Linked DNA regions of Homo sapiens: all the other regions are linked to region 2. The links are contacts of gene promoters, found by promoter capture Hi-C in human tissues and cell types (Jung and others, 2019). All regions are on one chromosome and are shown on one strand. Each heading gives the region's core, a stretch centred on a gene start or on the middle of the fragment in contact. The rest is flanking DNA. Distances are from core to core; before and after follow the strand shown. Region 1 holds the start of RNF166 (ring finger protein 166). Region 2 holds the start of ANKRD11 (ankyrin repeat domain containing 11). Region 3 overlaps GALNS (galactosamine (N-acetyl)-6-sulfatase).

What was found. Contacts are between HindIII fragments. The study calls those that stand out against the background at their distance.
Region 1: the fragment with the promoter of RNF166 here is called in contact with the fragment with the promoter of ANKRD11 in region 2 in 1 of the 25 tissues and cell types used here (lymphoblastoid cells).
Region 3: a fragment that was not itself captured here is called in contact with the fragment with the promoter of ANKRD11 in region 2 in 1 of the 25 tissues and cell types used here (dorsolateral prefrontal cortex).

What each region holds. Positions count from the first base shown.
Region 1 is chr16:88,704,657-88,708,455 of GRCh38, reverse strand. RNF166 (ring finger protein 166) reads left to right here and starts at 2,048. Exons shown (of 6, transcript NM_178841.4): 1 at 2,048-2,285. The coding sequence starts at 2,131. CTU2 (cytosolic thiouridylase subunit 2) reads right to left here and starts at 1,953. Exons shown (of 15, transcript NM_001012759.3): 1 at 1,858-1,953; 2 at 1,246-1,320. The coding sequence starts at 1,925. RefSeq lists silencers at 1,685-1,994, 2,035-2,314 and an enhancer at 1,936-2,573. The HindIII fragment of the contact is 44,302 bases long and covers 1-3,799 here.
Region 2 is chr16:89,488,477-89,492,533 of GRCh38, reverse strand. It overlaps ANKRD11 (ankyrin repeat domain containing 11), which reads left to right and starts at 1,973. Exons shown (of 13, transcript NM_013275.6): 1 at 1,973-2,289. It overlaps LOC101930112 (a long non-coding RNA gene), which reads right to left and starts at 1,564. Exons shown (of 2, transcript XR_933895.4): 1 at 1,148-1,564. It overlaps LOC101927863 (a long non-coding RNA gene), which reads left to right. Exons shown (of 5, transcript NR_188547.1): 5 at 1-131. RefSeq lists silencers at 1,254-1,303, 1,424-1,513, 1,714-2,193, 2,768-2,817, 2,898-3,007 and 1 more and enhancers at 2,399-2,913, 2,914-3,427, 4,017-4,057. The HindIII fragment of the contact is 15,043 bases long and covers 1-4,057 here.
Region 3 is chr16:88,849,785-88,853,710 of GRCh38, reverse strand. All of the region lies in intron 1 of GALNS (galactosamine (N-acetyl)-6-sulfatase), which reads left to right. Among named protein-coding and RNA genes, the nearest start is that of GALNS, 5.2 kb to the left of the region's middle. RefSeq lists an enhancer at 3,368-3,537. The HindIII fragment of the contact is 6,360 bases long and covers 1-3,926 here.

The DNA of each region.
Region 1 (3,799 bases), core at 799-3,298, 780 kb after region 2:
ACACCACCAGCTGGGATTCAAGCGTGGTGGGTCCACGTGTACATGCTGCGTCTGGGCTCCTGAAACCACGCTGTCCCCTGTGGGTCAGGGAAGGCCAAGGTTTCTCCCACGTGCTGACCTGAATGATCCCTGGGGATCCCAGCTCGATGTAGATTCCTAAGGCCTTCCCCTAGAGAGCCGGCTCCCCACTGTTCCTTGGGACCAGCAAGCACAGCAAAAGCCCTTCTGGCCACAAGGGCCTAGCATACAGCCACAGCAGCCTCTCCTCAGTGAATTCTGCCGGCAGCCTGGTGTTCTTGGCAATTTCAGATGCTCCTGGGTGGTTAAAGAAGTACCTATCTTGGCCAGGTGTGGTGGCTCATGCCTGTAATCCCAGCACTTTGGGAGGCCGAGGCAGGTGGATCACTTGAGGTCAGGAGTTCGAAACCAGCCTGGCCAACATGGTGAAACCCTGTCTCTACTAAAAATACAAAAACAATTGGCCGGGCATGATGGCAGGCACCTGTAATCCCAGCTACTCAGGAGGCTGAGGCAGGAGAATCACTTGAACCCAGGAGGTAAAGGTTGCAGTGAGCTGGGATCATGCACTCCAGCTGTTGCACTCCAGCCTGGGTGACAGAGGGAGACTCCATCTCAAAAAAAACAACAACAACAACAAAAAAACCACGCACCACCACTGGGAATTAAGAGGGCTAAAAGGAGAGAGACCTGGTCCTCCCTTCAGGGAGCTATGAGTCTAGTGGAAACAACTGAACAATACAATGGCTACAAGCCAAGAAAGACATGACAAGCGCCTGGGGGAAAGCTAGAGGTCTTCCAAGCCTCTATCCTGCCACAGATGAAACAAGCATCTCACACGAGATTAAAAACTTTCACCCAGACCATCTGCCAAGTTCCCAAGATGCTCTGATCCGCCCCTAGATGTATTCCAGCTGCCCCCAAACGCCTGGTCCTCCTACAGCTTATCCCAGTCTAGACACCACGGCCCCACTTCCAACTGTCCCCATAAGTTCCATCAGAAACCTCATCAGGGGATCTGTGGCTAGCTCATGGGAAACTTTCCCAAGCAGGAAACCAATGCTTTCGCCTCCACTTCAACACCAGGGGCACGAGGGACCCCATCAGGAGCAGGAATAAAGTAAGTACATGTTTTTAAAAAGAATTAACAAAGCATCACAAGTTGCGGCTATCCTGTCTGCTAGCGAGGCCATGTTTGCCAGGGTCTCAGCCACCTCCAGGCCTCACCTGCAGAAGGCATCTCCGGCTCGTATCACCACAACGGGCTGCGCTTCCTTGCACTTCACACACTTCTGCTCACGGCTTTGGAGATGGGAGGGGGGAGAAGAGAGAAACACAGATCACATCTTCCCCACGCCTAGTGGGCTTTGGGGAGACAGCTCCTGTTTCTCACCCTGAGTTGGGTCAGAGAAAGGCACCTCGGTACACACACAAACCCAGGCTTGTGTTCTGTCCAAACTTCAAGAAAAACAAAGGCTCTGGGGGGATGTTTAGCCTAGAAAAGCCGGCTCAGGGGGCACATAAAGGCCGCTTTTCAGTCTCCCAAGGCTGACACGGGGAGGCGAGACAGCTTCACGGCACCAGTTCTCTCCGAATAAGGACAGCACTGTCAGCGGCAGAGCCGTCCCCAGTGGCTGCTAGGATGAGAGGCGCGAGCCAGTGGAGTAAGTCCCCTTCTAGGTGGCCGTCACCGCTTGACAGGCATTCCCCGAGTGCTAGGGAGCGAGGTCCCGCTCTCCACGCGGGGCTTCCCGGAGCAAGCCCGGCCGGGACCCTTCGGGGCAGGAGTGCGGCGGGAAGGCGAGGGGCGGCCTGGCGGGTCCGGCCGCCAGCTCTTACCTGGGCCGCGGCGCCGGGGGCGGCTCCTCAGGCGCCGGCTCCCCGTAGTCCTCGCCCACCTGACACATGGGCACGCCGGGTCCCGTCGCAGACTGTGGCGGCGACAGCGCGAGGGCGCGCCCCGATGACGTCGGAGTGGCGCCGTGACGGCCGCGAAGCCCGGCTGGGGGCGGCGCCCTACGATGACGTCAGCGCGGCGCAGTAGCGGCTGTGACTAGCGGGCCGGCCCGGGCCAGGACAGCGGGCGGCGGGCGGCGCGGGCCTGGCCCCGGGATGGCTATGTTCCGCAGCCTGGTGGCCTCGGCTCAGCAGCGGCAGCCGCCGGCCGGGCCGGCGGGCGGCGACAGCGGCCTGGAGGCGCAGTACACCTGCCCCATCTGCCTGGAGGTCTATCACCGGCCCGTGGCCATCGGCAGCTGCGGCCACACGTGAGCGCGCCCGCCCAGGGGCCGCGGGGAGGGGGCCGTGCCCCGCCGCGGGAGGGGTCGCGAGGCCGGCGGCCGCCCCGGTGCAGCTCCGGACTGGGCGCGCGGGGACTCGGGGCGCCGGGGCCTCGGGGCGCGTGGGGTCCGGGTTTCCCTGTGCCGCGCCGCCTCTGCCCTCTGGGCGCGTTCATCCCCCGCCCAGCCTCCTTCGCGCCAGCCGCAGGCGCCCGGTCCGACTGCTGCTTCGGTTCACCGGGCGACCTGCGGCCCTGCCCAAGCTCGGGGTCCCCGGCGGCTGCGGCGGGCGCTCCGGTACTCAGAGGGCAGCAGGTGCCACCGCTCCGCCAGTGGTGGTGGATTTGGGCTTGTGCGGCTGGAATGGGCAGTTGTAAATAAATAACTTGTAGTTTTTGCTATCAACTCTTGTTCGGACCCGCTGTCTGCCTGTTTTGACTACAGAGGAAAGGAGTTCCCTAAAGTTTAGAGGGGCTTGTTTGGAGTCTGATGTTCTTAGTTTTGTTTGAAGGAGAACTTGAGTCACACCGATCACTGAGTAGCCAGGCAGGCTGGTCCACAGAGGAGCAGACACTGACCACCTTGCTGGGGTTTCCAGCTGCACCAGGGCTCACAGCCGGCTCCTCCAGGGTGTTTCAGGAACAGAAACTGGAGGACGTGGCTCTCCTGGCGGGGAGCTGTGCTCAAGTATTCTGGAGCTGCCAGCCCCGTTGGGAGGAAGCCTAGATCAGTGTCTGCTCCCTCCTAAGTGCTGAATAATACAGCTCTTGAGCAAAATCAGCAGTGGCAGGGGAGAGAGAGAGCAGGAGGGCTTCCCCGCAGACATCCAAGCTGCTGAGGTGGTGGAGTGGAGGGGGGTGCACCCAGACTGGTAGGAGGCTCTAGAACATTTTGCAAGCAAAGTCAGCTGACTTCAGGGGCTCCTGGTACAGAGGGAGCTGGGACTGCTAGGTGGATGTGTGCTGGTCACCCACGGAGGTGGCAGGGCCAGTGTCAGGATGCAGAGCTGCCTTCATTACCTGTGTCAGGCAGCACAGGCGCCTGCCCACGCTGGGACAGCTCTACCTACTTCTCTTGTGAGGCTGCTACAGGCTCTGCCCCTGCTCCTCCATCTCACTTAGCCGTGACATTTTGGGGGGGCAGCCTCTGAACGGGAATATTTTTTTTTGAGACAGAGTCTTGCTCTTGTCACCCAGCCTGGAGTGCAGTGGCGCCATCTCGGCTCACCGCAACCTCCATCTCCTGGGTTCAAGTGATCCTCCTGCCTCAGCCTCCAGAGTAGCTGGGATTACAGGCACCCGCCACCACGCCCGGCTAATTGCTGTATTTTTAGTAGACAAGGGGTTTCACCATGTTGGCCAGGCTGGTCTCGAACTCCTGACCTCCGGTGACCTGCCCGTCTCAGCCTCCCAAAGTGCTGGGATGACAGGCGTGAGCCACCGCGCCTGGCAGGACTTCCTTCTTGTGAGCAGGTAGCGGGTGTTTGAAGGTGTGTTCCGCAC
Region 2 (4,057 bases), core at 724-3,223:
ATACCACTGCCCGTCAATCAGCCTAGGGGAAACATTCTCGAGTGCGAGCATGACGGCTTAGGTTGATGTTTTTCAAATTTTCCCAATGATGAGTATTGTAAGGGACCAAAATAAAAAAATGCCAATGCCTAGTCCCCTCTCATCTAGAATAATTCCATAGGTGATGATGGGGTCCAGGACTCTGAATTTCGTCAATTTTACCAAATACTTCGTCCAGTGAGGCAAATATGGAAACACTTGGATCACCTCTTCGTGAACGCACATCAGCGCATACGCCGGCTGTTTTTATCAGGCGCTCACCCCTCATCCAATGGCGTGACTAGTTGTGGGTGGAGCCCGAAATCTGGCTGCCTAGAGAAGGCTGAAGGTCCAGTTATAGCATAACTAATGTTTCCCCAGAGCTCACATACGTGCCAAGCACCGTGCTACAGCCTCCACAGCCCCTTCATTTAATCTTCCCGATGGGCCTATGAAATAGGTGCTCCTGGCCCGCACCGTGGCTCATGCCTCTAATCCCAGCACTTTGGGAAGCTGAGGAGGGAGGGTCGCTTGAGTCCAGGATTTCAAGACCAGCCTGGGAAACACACAGAGAGCCTATCTCTACGAAAATTTAAAAAATTAGCCGGGTGTGGTGATGCCTGACTGTGGTCCCACCTACTTAGTAGGCTAAGGTGGGAGGATCCTCTGAGCCCGGGAAGCTGAGGCTGCAGTTAGCACTGCACTCCAGCATGGGCGACAGAGTGAGACCCTGACTCAAAAAAAAAAAAAAAAAAGAATAGGTGCTACTTGTAGTTCCCATTTTACCCACCAAGAAACTGAAGATCTGAGAGACAAAGCCTACAGGGTGACCGCTAGTCACTGGTAGGGCTGGGATTTGAACAGGGGCGGTTTAACAACTGATCTCTCGACCATAATGCGTGTTGCCCAAGAAAAAAGACCGTCCTCACGGTCCTATCCACTCCGGACTTTGCAATTCCGTTATTTCGTAAATTGAGGCCTATAAATAGTTTGCTTACCCGTTGTCTTAGTCCCCAGTAACATGCAGAACTAAAGAAGAAACTGAAGGAGCACCGATTTTGTTCACCTTGCTTTTTGGTTTAGTTCTGGAGGAGAACACAGGTGCACTTAGAACAGGATCCACACTTACCAGAGGCTTGATTCATTTTAGCTGCAAAGAAAACCAGTCCTCGTCTACCTTTTTCGCGTGTTGGAGAACTAACTAGCAAGGCAGGGAATGCGGTTCGTGGGCGCTTGGCCTCCTCAAGCGGCTCAGGCTCTCAGAGCGCGAGGCCCAGGGGCTCTGGAGCCGCGGCCGCGACGCGCCCGAGGGCCGTTCTCTTCGACGGCAGAGCAAGAGTCACCGCGCGGGAGCCCCGAGCGACCGCCCCGCTGCCCCGGTACCCTCCCCTCGCAGCCGCCCAGAGCTCTTCATGCCCCGTGACGCCCGTTAGGGCAGCGCGGCCGGAGGCCGGGCCGGACGTGGCCCGAGATGTCCGGGGGCAGGCAGAAGACCACGGGCACGCGACAGGCAACCGCCGCCTCGGCTCTAGAGGTGGACGTTTTGTCTCCCTGCGCTTCAATACCAGATTTTGTTTCCAGACGACATCCCTGTTGCTTCCGGCACTTGGAAAGACCAATCGTCAGGCCCGAGAATGCAAGACCCACCCTCCTTTGCGACGGAGGCAGCCAATCCAGTTGCTCGCTACTTCCAGTGTCGCATGCGCCCTTACGCAGGACCCTGCCCAATCGTTACCGGGACGTCCTCCTAGTCCCGCCTCCGGACCGCCAGAGAGGCTGTCAATCCCGCCTCTCTCCTTCACTCCATTAGCGCACTAACTCACGGCGCTGTGACGTGCACAGCCCCTGCGGCCGGCCGGGGCGGGCCAATGGCGGTGGCGGATACGGCGGGCCAATGGGCGGGAGCGTCTCATGCGGCCGGCTCCCGCCGCAGCCGCCGCTGGGTCCTGGAGCCAGAGGCCGCCCTGAGACGGTGCGCGATGGACCGAGGGCCCCAGCCGGGGAGGCGCCGCCGCCGAGCCCGCGGCCAGACGCCCCATCAGTAGCGTCCGCACCGGGAGCCGCGGCTCTCGCCCGAGCCGTGGGCGCGCCCGAGGGGCGGGCTCGCCTCCCGCCGTCCCTCGCAGCTCTGCCGGGCCCGAGCCCGCGCCGCCGCCGCCGCCGCCTTGCCGCTCGGGCCGCGCGGCCCGGGAAACGCGGCCGCGGGCTGCATGGGCAGCGCCCGCGCCCCGCCGCTGAGCCGTCGCGGAGCCGCGCAGCCCTCGGAGCACGGTGAGAGGCGCCGCTGGTCTGGGGGCGGTGGTCGGGGCGGGCACGGGGCATTCGCGCGGCCTTGCGGCCTGCAGGCCTTCCCCGGCGACGGAGCTGCGCCGCGGGCCTCCGGGCGGGCCTGGGGGGTCGGGGCCGGGTGGGCGGGGGTCTTTGGGGGCCCGGGGCGATCGTGAGGGACCAATAATGGGTCCCGGAGCGGGCCTACGGGTCCGGGTTCGGGGCAGCCGGGGGTCTTTGGGGGCCCGGGGTGGCCGTGAGGGGCCCATAGGGGGCTCCGGGGGGGGCCTGGGAGGTCGGCGGAGCTTGGGTCGGCCGTAAGGGGCGGACGGGGGCTCCGGGCGGGCCTGGGTGGCCGGGGGCCCGCGGCGGCTCTGAGGGGCCGATTGGGGGCTCCGGGGCGGGCCTGGGGGCCGTGGGGGCCCGGGGCGGCCGTGAGAGGCGGACAGGGGGCTCCGGGGCGGGCCTCGGGGGCTCGGAGCGGCCGTGAGGGGCGGACGGGGGGCTTCGGGGCGGGCCTGCAGGTCTTGGGGACCTGAGGCTGCCGGGAGGGGCTGCCAGGGGGCGCTGGCCGGGCGCCGGGTTCTGCGGAGCTGGGGCGCCGACCTCTGACCCGCGAGAGGGGCGCCTTCGCCGTGCTGGTCGTAGTTGTTATTCTCAGCGTCCCTATTATTATCGCTGTTTTGAAATGAGAGCAGGCGGCTCTCGGGCTCCGAGCCGGAGGGGGAGGGCGAACTGGGGACCTGGGGGCGTCGGGGTTGCAGGAGGCGCGCGTAGGCCGAGGAGGGGCAGGAATGCGGGCAGCCGTGTGGGGGGTGTTAGGGGGAGGGTAGGCGGGCGGGTGTGGGGGGTGGCTGGGAGGAAAGCGGTGGCGGTGGCGGCTGCAACAGCAGCCCTTGGCCTCAAGGAACAATGTGAGACGTTGCCTGAAATGTTAATTTCCGTTCCTCATTTCATCATCCCCTGGCAGGGCGGTAGCTGTGTGTGTGGTGTATGTGTGTGCGCGCGCGCGCGCGCGCGCGTGTGTGTGTGTGTGTAGGGTTGGCCCTGCCACATTGATTCAGTCCCCTCTCAAAGAGGGATTGTACTGTTAACTCTTGTGTTTGTGTTATTTGGGAAGGTTGGTCGGGGGGAGTCTTGATTTTTCTCGAGGCTTGCTCTTTTCCTGGTGCCCCATTAAGATTTTCTGCTTCTGTTGTGTTTTTGGAAGGTTAGTGTTATATATCAGCTTCCAAGAAGTTTTGGAAGAGGCTTGGGAAGATGAAGCTGGTCTAACAGCTCCCTATGCTTTGAAACTGTTTTCCTTCTATGTAACATGCTTAGGATTCATCGTTTTTGTAGATTATGAGTAGTTTTGTATCCTTTTGCAAGAACAGGGTTTTATGGTAGAGAAATTAGATTTCAGGCTTTCTTACATGAGGAGAGAGTTTTATGCAGTCATTAGAGCAATATCCTTAACACTTGAAATGAGAAATAAAAGTGTGCACAGTTGTTGAACTGCAAAACTTAGAGAATCTTTTGATCCTTTTTGGGATGTTGAGACTTAGCCAAACATATAAGATGATATTACCTGTGGAAAAAGTGCCATCGAAACAGTTACTGTTTTTGTTGTGTGCAGACCTAGTCTATGGCATAACGTTCAAAATCGGAGACCCTGAGGCTGTTTCTTTGGTTTCTCTGAGACCTTGATTTCTCTTAGTAAGTATTGGCTGCCCTGGAAGACTTCGAGTTCTGTTAGAGAATGATTACAGAAGTCCTCTGATTTTACTCT
Region 3 (3,926 bases), core at 1,270-3,769, 640 kb after region 2:
CTGCGTGGCCCACTCTGCTCTCCAGGGCTTCTGGGGCCTTGGAGACAGGTGAGACCCAGTGACAAGTTCCACTCTGGCCCACACACAGCTCCTGCCTCCCAGGGCGAGCAGCACTCTGTGTCTCCACTCCTTATTTGGAAAATAGGGTTAAGGAGGGTCAGCCCTGACCACAGAGGAAGTGGAGAGTCAGGGCCACCCAGGCCAGCTCCTGTTGCCACAGCAGCCTCGTCGAGCCACCAGAGTCCGGGGAGGGTTGCTCAGTGCCCCTCGTTTGAAACAGACAAGCACTGGCCTGCTCGTCTTCATAATAATCCCATAGCAACCAGTAGGAATGGAAACTGCGTTTCTTAAAACTCTGAAATTCTGAAGGATACTGATCCATGGCTCACAGCTGTGCTCGCTGAACGTGGACAATCATTTGGGGGCTTTTAGGCCTTTTTTTTTTTTTTTTTTTTTTTTGAGATGGAGTCTCACTCTGGTCACCCAGGCTGGATTGCAGTGGTGTGATCTCAGCTCACTGCAACCTCCGTCTCCCAGGTTCAAGCAATTCTCCTGCCTCAGCCTCCCGAGTAGCTGGGACTACAGGCTCCCACCACCGTGCCCAGCTAATTTTTGTATTTCTAGTGGAGACGGGGTTTCACCATATTGGCCAGTCTGGCCTGAAACTCCTGACCTCAGGTGATCTGCCTGCCTCAGCCTCCCAAAGTGCTGGGATTACAGGCATGAGCCACCACACCCAGCCAGGACTTTTTTTTTGAGACAAGGTCTGGCTCTGTCACCCAGGCTGGAGTGCAGTAGCTCGATCACAGCTCACTGCAGCCTCAAACTACTGGGCTCAAGCAATTTTCCTGCCTCAGCCTCCTGAGTAGCTGGGATTATAGCCGCCCATCACCACACTCGGCTAATTAATTTGATCTTCAATCACTGATACCCTTTCTTCCACTAGATCGAATCGGCTACTGAAGCTTGTGCATGCGTCACGTAGTTCTGGTGCCATGGTTTTCAGCTCCATCAGGTCATCTAAGGTCTTCTCTACACTGTTGATTCTAGTTAGCCATTCGTCTCATCTTTTTTCAAGGTTTTTAGCTTCCTTACCATGGATTCAAACATCTTCCTCTAGTTCGGAGAAGTTGGTTATTACCGACTTTCTGAAGCCTACTTCTGTCAGCTCGTCAGAGTCATTCTCTGTCCAGCTTTGTTCCCTTGCTGGCGAGGAGCTGCGATCCTTTGGAGGAGAAGAGGTGCTCTGGTTTTTAGAATTTTCAGCTTTTCTGCTCTGGTTTCTCCCCATCTTTGTGGTTTTATCTGCCTTTGGTCTTTGATGCTGGTGGCCTAAAGATGGGGTTTTGGCGTAGATGTCCTTTTTGTTGATGTTGATGCTATTCCTTTCTGTTTGTTAATTTTCCTTATAAGAGTCAGGTCCCTCAGCTGCAGGTCTGTTGGAGTTTGCTGAAGGTCCACTCCAGACCCTGTTTGCCTGGGTATCACCAGTGGAGGCTGCAGAACAGCAACTATTGCAGAATAGTAAATATTGCTGCCTGATCCTTCTTCTGGAAGCTTTGTCCCAGAGGGGCACCTGCCTGTATGAGGTGTCAGTGGGCCCCTACTGGGAAGTATCTCCCAGTTAGGCTACACGGGGGTCAGGGACCCACTTGAGGAGGCAATGTGTCCGTTCTCAGAGCTCAAACACTGTGCCGGGAGAACCACTGCTCTCTTCAGAGCTGTCAGACGGGGACGTTTAAGTCTGCCGAAGTTTCTGCTGCCTTTTGTTCAGCTATTCCCTGCTCCTAGAGGTGGGGTCTACAGAGGCAGCAGGCTTTGCAGAGCTGCGGTGGGCTCTGCCCGGTTCGAGCTTCCCTGCCGCTTTGTTTACCTACTCAAGCCTCAGCAATGGCGGACGCCCCTCCCCAGGCAGGCTGCCACCTCGCAGGTGGATCTCAGACTGCTGTGCTAGCAGTGAGCAAGGCTCCGTGGGCATGAGACCCTCCGAGCCAGGCCCGGGATATAATCTCCTGGTGTGTCGTTAGCTAAGACCGTTGGAAAAGCGCACTATTTGGGCGGGAGTGTCCTGATTTTCCAGGTGCAGTCTGTCACGGCTTCCCTTGGCTAGGAAAGGGAAATCCCCCAACCCCTCGCACTTCCTGAGTGAGGCGATGCCCCACCCTGCTTCGGCTCACCCTCCATGGGCTGCACTCACTGTCCAACCAGTCCCAGTAGGATGAACCAGGCACCTCAGTTGGAAATGCAGAAATCGCCGTCTTCTGCGTCAATCACGCTGGGAGCTGCAGCCCGGAGCTGTTCCTATTCAGCCATGTTGGAACGGAATCCCCACACCCGGCTAATTAAAAAAAAAGTTTTTTTTAGTGACAGTGTCTGTCTGTGAGACCCAGGTTGGTCTTGACTTCCTGAGCTCAAGCGATCCTCCCTCCTCAGCCTCCCAAAGTGTTGGGATAACAGACGTGAACCACTGGATCCAGCCCTTTTAGGACTTTTAAGGGAGAGAAGAAAGGTGGTTCCTGCCCGTGGTGCCCTGTGGGGGTTTTAGATGTTCAATGGTAACCTGCTCACTCTGCAGGGAGGCTGTCCACACCTGCTTTTCATAGCCAAGAAAGGCGCCGATAAATAATGAAAGAACAGGGTCAGCAGATGAGAGCTGGCCCAGCAGCCTGGGACGCTGTCCTCAGAAGGCCCACGTGTGGGACGTTGCCCTCGGCTGGTCAGAAGGCACATGTGTGGGAGGTTTTTGCCCTCGGCTGGCGTCTGGGAACAGGAGGTCCCCCCGCTGTTCGCTGATAGGAGCAGCTCACCTTGCCACACTGTTTTTGCACATGCCACGATTTATGCCCAGCATCCTCCTTCTGGGCATAAAGAGTCTCGGCACATGCCAGGCAGAGGCGGCCGCACTGCCAGCCTAGGCAAAAGCCCTGGGAACTGAGTCTCGCACAGCTTCCCCGTCAGCATCCCGCACCTGTGCTCGCAGCCCGAGCGTCCCGTGTGGCTCCGCCTGGGGAGGGTTCCACGCTGCGGCTGGTCTCCCCGGCCCCGCCCGCACCTTCTCCCCTGGCTGATGCCCTCCCCGTTGTAAGTCATGGCAGTGAGTAGGACTGTCGCCAAGACCTGGGACTCCTCCCAGCGAGAGTGCTCCCTTGCGGTATCTTCTGAGTCAGTGGTGAGCGTGGAGCCCCCTCCCTCAAGCCCTGGGACTCCTCCCCGCAGTATTTTCTGGTGAGTGATGAGCGTGGAGCCCACTCCCTTTACAGCATTTTCCGCTGCATCCATTCATGTTATTTGTGGCCTGGAACAGGTAGGAGGATGACCCAGGTGAGCACAAGCAGATCCGGACGCAGCTCTGCTGACTGCCGACCTTCTGGGGAGGCCAGACCCGCCTCGGGAAGCCTCAGGACGCAGCCTGCAGGGAGGGTCGGGCACATGGCACCCAGTATTCAGATGTGCGGCCTCACTCCCAGCCCGAAGGGAGCCCAGCAGTGGTCCTGGGCATGGGCAGACAGTGTAACGGGCGAAACATACTGCTCCCTCCCATCCCAGGCCTTGTGCCCCCGGCCCACCTGCCATTCTGTACTCTCCCACCTGGACTGGAGACAGCAGGAAGTGCAGAAGCCACCTGAGAGGATGAATCTGCACTCGGGGAGGTGGAGGGCAAGGAGCTTTGGGCGTGTGTGGCCAGTCCCCCTCAGGCTGGCCTCAGGGAGCTGTACCGTCCCAGCCTGCACTGCAGGTTTCTGCTGCCTCAGTGGGATGCACCTCACCCTGACATGGGCGCATTCGCCCACTGTGACTAGGTGCCACTGAGCCCAAGGTCCCTTCTCAGCCCATGAGCAGCTCTGCGGGCGTCCTGCCCCCTGTCCTCCCACCTCCCTTTCTTCCTCATCAGCTTCAGGGGACACCTCTCTCTAGGTCCTCCTTTC